Regions from separate parts of the Homo sapiens genome. Here region 2 is linked to region 1. Evidence: promoter capture Hi-C in human tissues and cell types (Jung and others, 2019). All regions are on one chromosome and are shown on one strand. The core of a region is centred on a gene start or on the middle of the fragment in contact, and the rest is flanking DNA. Distances in the headings are between cores, read along the strand shown.

Region 1 (3,225 bases), core at 101-2,600:
CCGATTTCTATTACCATAGAATAGCTTTGCTGGTTGTAGAACTTCACATACATGAAATCAAACCAATATGGTCTTTGGCCTTTTTCATTCTACATAATGTATCTGAGATTGTTGCTATATCAAAAGTCTTTTTTGTGGCAGAGATTATTTCACTATATATATATACCACGTTTGTTTATTCATTCACCTGTTGATAGACATTTGGGTTGTTTTCAGGTTTTTTGACATTATGAACATTTTAATATGTCTTTTTAGAGTTAGAAGGAACTGTACATTAAATGCTGAGATTACAAAAGATGACTTCAGTTTTGAATAAATTGAGTCTGTAGTACTTGTAGGACACTCAGGTAGTATTCTGGGCTCCTCTTGGAGTACAGTCTAAGTTGCAGAAGAGAGACAGGGTCTAGCAATGTAAATTTCTGTAGTCGCCAGCCTTGATTCAGAGTTAAAGCTATGGGAAAGTCCTCAGGCAGAGGACAAACATTAGACAAGAAAATGCCCATATATGAAACCCTGCGAAGCATCAGTATTTGAGGAGCAGACTAAAAAGGAACCGTCTGTGGAGGCTAAGAGAAGCATGGCCATTTATCTTTGTGTCCCGATCATCAGGCACAGGACCCCACACACAGTCACTTCTCAATGTGCTAAATTTCACAGAATGCGTCCAGGGTACCTGGTTCTGGATAGATCCGGTAGAAGGAGATAGACCGGGAGGGCAAATGGCATGAGGAGTCTCACAGGCCAGAGTGATTAAAGGGGTGTATCGGGGCGGTAAACCCTACAGACTCTACCTGTGCTTATGCGGGGCTGGGGAGGACGAGTCATTACAGATGAAGAATTAAGTAAGGTCAGACCACTCAGGGCCTTAGATGGATGTCACATTGAAGAATTTAGACTCCAACAGGCCTGCCACCCTGGGAGGAGTCATCGCGGATTCTGGAGAAGGGCGTGACAGAGGAGATTTCCTTTCGGGAAGTGTAGTCTGGCAGCGGTGCCCCGGTGGTGGCGGCGGCGGTGCTGCTGTTGCTGGTGATCGTGTGGTGGTGTTAGCGGCGATAGTGCTTTCCACTGGGCTTTGGCTTGGTAGCCGCTGAAAGAGAACAACGCTGCCGCTGCTGCTGATTTCATGCCATTTCCTGACCCGGCGCTGTAACTTGGCCTCTGAGCCTTGGCCACAGAACGCAGAGGCCGTGGCATCTGGCCGCAGCTGGGCTGCAGTGCGTGCGCGCCTGGCCTGGTGGTCCGATGGGAAGCCCGGGGCGGGGCAGCCGCGGGGCGGGGGCGGGGCGTCGCGGAGATAGGCCACGCCCCTGCCCGCCCGCGCAGGCGCGCTGCGGGTCGTTAGCTGTCAGAGCCAAGCGGCGGGCTGGCGGCGGGCTCCGACGTCTGCGCCAGGACCTGGCTGGCTGAGCCCGGCGCAGCAGCAGCAGCCAGGGCAGCGCGGCCCCTACTCCCTGTCAGGTCGTAGAGGCGAGCAGGGACCAGCTGGTCGCCGGCCCCTCGGGCAAGATGGGGAACCGGGAGATGGAGGAGCTGATCCCGCTGGTGAACCGTCTGCAGGACGCGTTTTCGGCGCTGGGACAGAGCTGCCTGCTGGAGCTGCCGCAGATCGCCGTGGTGGGCGGCCAGAGCGCCGGCAAGAGCTCGGTGCTCGAGAACTTCGTGGGCAGGTAAGCGCGCAGGGCGCGGAGTAAGGATGCGGCAGTGGGGCGACCCCGCTGCGGGCCGTTGGAACGTGGACGGGCAGCGGGAGCCAGAGGGTGGATGGACCAGGCGCTGCGGTGGAATGGGGGGCAGAGTGGAATGGGGGGCAGAGTGGCGGTGTCCGTGGGGCGGGCGGGGTCCTCCAGCTCTGGGCATCCTCCGTCCCCTGCCACCCCCCGCCTGGTGGCCCTCCTGCCTGCCTTTCATCGTGCGATACAAAGCCATTTCCTCCCTGTCCTCCAGTCGGGGAGTCGGGGGAGGGGTCCGCCCCGGGCTCGACCCCCACCCCCTCGGTGCGCGCCAGCCCCGGGCAGCCTCCCTGCGTAGCGCGCCGAAAGCTTCCCAGTGCCCCTCTCCTGTTTTCCCAGCTCAACACCCCCCTCCTTTTCCTGTCGCCCTCCGTGAGGCTCCCTGTGAGGCTGTGGGGCTTTATCCCCCGAGCCCCCTCCCTTAGGTGGAGATGCTTTCCTTCTCGCCAGGGTTCTCGTTCCTCTCAGCTGTCTACTGTTGCCTGCCTCTAGCTGGGGAGGCGGGGTGCGAGGAGAAAGACGTCGTTTGTTGTGGTGAAGCTTTATCCAGAGACGCTTCCCCACCATTCTCCTCCCGGAGAGTCGAAGAATAAAAGGTGGTGTGTTTGCGTGTGCACCTATTCACAGCTTCAGGCAATTGTGAGAGAGCCCGAGGCACAGACTTGGCAGGGGGTGGACGTGGACTTATGTTGTCCAGGTGCCATGTCATTCCTGCATCATCTCGGAACTGACCAGCATCTTTCTCGCACTCTCTCTGCGCCCCCTCCCCCAGCATCATCTTCCGTTCTCTAAGCTCCTATTTGTCTTGCTAGCCTTCAAGACAACATTCTGAATCTAAATTGTAGCTGTGGTTTTCCTCATGACTCTTAATACAGAAACAGCTAAGGAATTAATTTTCGAATTAGGAATCAGCATTTCTTCCACTGAGCAATTCATGAGGGATTAAGTTACCTTAATGGCCTTGCCTGAAGAGTGCAGACATTTGCTAAGAAAAGCCCATTTAAAAGCATTATGAAAACTGAAATCTGTTTCCTAGTAATAGAAAACCAGGTAGAAATGTACAGTATCCAAGAAAAAATGCTGGCGAGATTGTACTTTATTCTTTTTATTTGGCTCATTCGTGACTTGGGATGCAGAAGGTTCCTGTTTCTGTTCCTTTTTTCTTTTTTTGTTAGTGCTTGGTGATGTGTAGAATTTAGAGCTGAATATTCCCACATTTCCTTTGGAAATGTTAGTGTTCATAAAGTACATATTCCTTTCTCTCAAATGATATTCCATCTCTCAGATGATATTTTTTTTCCTGTATGAACTAGAAAGATAAGAAGCCTAACAAAGTAAAATTGCTGACAATTGGCTTGTATCCTTGAGTAATTCACTTAATCACTACACCTCATTTTTATATTTTTTTTGATTAATGAACAAAGTGAAGGTAAAGCATTTTGCCTACGTCATCTTAGACTTTTGGTGAAGTGATGGATTTCAAACATATAAC
Region 2 (3,105 bases), core at 40-2,539, 710 kb after region 1:
CCAGGGCTATTTTATAACTTACTGAGTTATCTAAAGCAATAGAATTAGTTTCATTTTATTGGATTCTGGAAGACATTTGTCAAGGGTTTATGCATAGGAGTAAGAGAAAAATGATACTTGTAGCCCTTACAATTGTATGACTATCCTGAACACTCCTACCGTTATTCATAAAACTTTTATTATGATGTAGTTGTGCTCAAATACTTCCGAGTGCTTACCATGTCTTGTATACCTATGTTGTTCATTACAGTAGCCACTAGCCACATGTGGCCATTAAGCACTTGAAATGCGGCTAGTCCAAATTGAAATTTACTGTAAGTGTAAAATACACATTGGATTTTGAAGACTTAATTAAAAAATAGCATGTAGGCCGGGCACAGTGGATCACCTGAGGTCAGGAGTTCGAGACCAGCCTGGCCAACATGGTGAAACCCTGTCTCTACCAAAAATACAAAAATTAGCCAGGTGTGGTGGTGCACGCCTATAGTCTCAGCTACTCAGGAGGCTGAGGCAGGAGAATTGCTTGAACCCAGGAGGCGGAGGTTGCAGTGAGCCGAGATCATGCCACTGCACTCCAGCCTGGGGCAACAGAGTGAGACTCTGTCTCAAAAAAAAAAAAAAAAGCATGTAAAGTATCTCATTAATTTTTAAATTTTGAATACATGTTCATATGGTAATATAGTATTTGATAATAAGGCAGTAGTCATTTTCTCAAGGCCTCCATCATAAAAATGCAGATGACTATTTATATTTTTTTGTGAATTTCTCGGTGTAAATAATTCCCCAAATGATCATACTTTATATTCTCCGGACTGCGTGCCTCGATGTTTGTTTGTGCTCTTGTACTGGCCCTCCTTTTCTTTAATGCCTAGCTCTTCTAATTCATCATAGTCCTTAGTTTCTTTTTCCTTGAGCTGAACATGAGTACCTCTCACTTGATATTCATTTATTGAGCATTTAAACACCTACTGTGCGCTAGATACTGTGCTAGACACTGGGAATATGAGGATCAAGAGAACATAGTTCTTACTGAGGACATTTATGGTATAGTTGAAGAAGAGAGGGAGACATGAATAATGGCAATTGAGTTGTTATAGATGCAGTGATAAAAGTGTACAGAGAACACTGGAGGCATAGGGGAAAGGGAGTAGTTAATTCTGTTTAGGGTTGATCTTGGAGGAGGAGGTGCTGATAGAGGTTTTCAAATATGAACAGGTGTTAGGTAGATTTCACATTGTGTTTTGGAGGACTGAAAGGCCCAGGTCATTCAAGACTGAAGGAGCAGTAAGAATCATTTATTGCTTCATGGTGTTACTTGAACATATCTTATATCGTTGCTTATTGATACACATTATTTCCTAAACTGCTCAGGGTCAAGAACTATGTATTGTACTGTTTTGTACATGTCCATAGGGTTTCTTTGTTGCTACTATCATTCATCAATTAGAGAAGAGGGAAATCTCTGTAGGTCCTGATGCAAAGTAGGAAATAGGTAGGGAGAAAGTGCTTTCCTAGTTTATGAAATGCCATGAAAAATGCTTAGGGCCTGTATTTTCATATGAAATGCATTCCTTAGGGCGGTAATATTGGAAGAAAGGATTTTTATAAAAGTACTTTTTTTAGTGAACATTGTTTATATTGTCATTTTTCAGAAATGCTTTCCATAAATGCCCGTTCTGCTAAAGAGATGTTATATTAATCTCAACATTTAATTTAGCTGACTTGTTTTTTTAAACAGAATACAGAGTCAAAAAAGTTAAGTCCACCGGTGGTGGAGACACTCCCTACAGTTGATTTGCATGAAGAGTCTTCCAATGCAGTTGTGGACAGTGAAACTGTTGAAAATATTTCCAGCTCATCTACCTCAGAAATCACTCCAATCTCAAAGCTTGAGTAAGTTGTTACAAAAAACAAACACAAAAAAGAATCTCCTTAGTTAGTGATAGAAAAATTTCCTTAAAAGATAAAGCAGCTTGATACTCAAGTTTGAAGTTTAGGCTATATAGCAGACCTAAATTACAGTGCTTGTGTTTTGTGTGCGTATGTGTGCATGCGTTTGTGTGTTTTGAATGTAATGATTTTATAACAAGTTTATTTAGCTAACTAACTCAATGAAGCTGATAGATCCCAGATATGAAATCTCTATATAGTCTGAGCAAAGTAAGGTTCTACTTAGGAAACAGTGCTTATTTGAATTGAATTCCCTATAATTATCAACTCAAATGTCAGGTTATTCATTTCCATTAAGTATCACTGTCATTTCATTCATTTTTATGTCTTCGTGTGAATCGCTAACTTTTTCAAACTCGATAATAAATATTCAGAGTGTTTAGGTTTAAGTGATCCTTAATTTAGAAAATTTGTTATGTACTTCTCCTAGCTTCTTCCTGCAGCAGTCCAAAGAACAAAACAAAATGTCCTTCTCTTAATACTACATTAAGCATTTCCTTTATCAAATGAGTTGACATAAATAAAGTGCAAGAAGAATAACTGGTACATAACTCAAGAATGTAAGGGCCTGGGTTGAAGGAGTTGCACAAGATATTATGGTTACCATTTAGAAGCTTGTCTCAGTATGGGCCAGGGAACAGAAGACATGTTGAGAAATAATGATAGTATTTAAACTTTTAAATTTAAATGATTCAGAAGGAATTTAAGGCTAGATACTATATATCTGAAGAGTGAATGCTATACTCCCATTATATTAAAAATGACTGGTTAATGAAATGGAGGTGAGGCAGGGAAAAATAGGAAGGTTTATATTTTAAAAACGAAATTCTAAGAACACCTTAAAATTTTAGTGAAATGTCTTGAGATAATGACTTTTGAAGGATGCCATAAGTAACAACTTTAATGCTGGTAGAATTAGTATAGTAATGATGGAAATTAAACTTTAGAGAAGATACATTGAGAATAAGTAATTTTTAAAAATCTTATTTTTGAAAGACCAAATATTAACCTCATATTTGGTAAGTAGTTATTTAGAAGCTGAGGACAATAACAGATCAAGTCAGCAATTGACTTTACATGATTTAAAATTTTCTTTCTTTGGTTTACATTATGTTTTGGAAATCACTAATAGTGTTTTTAATGTATATTACCTCA

Evidence for each region. Contacts are between HindIII fragments. The study calls those that stand out against the background at their distance.
Region 2: a fragment that was not itself captured here is called in contact with the fragment with the promoter of DNM3 in region 1 in 1 of the 25 tissues and cell types used here (hippocampus).

Annotation. Positions count from the first base shown.
Region 1 is chr1:171,840,148-171,843,372 of GRCh38, forward strand. DNM3 (dynamin 3) reads left to right here and starts at 1,351. Exons shown (of 21, transcript NM_015569.5): 1 at 1,351-1,670. The coding sequence starts at 1,510. RefSeq lists a silencer at 1,166-1,395 and an enhancer at 1,596-1,775. The HindIII fragment of the contact is 5,744 bases long and covers 1-3,225 here.
Region 2 is chr1:172,554,131-172,557,235 of GRCh38, forward strand. SUCO (SUN domain containing ossification factor) reads left to right here. Exons shown (of 24, transcript NM_014283.5): 4 at 1,739-1,893. Among named protein-coding and RNA genes, the nearest start is that of SUCO, 23 kb to the left of the region's middle. The HindIII fragment of the contact is 3,711 bases long and covers 1-3,105 here.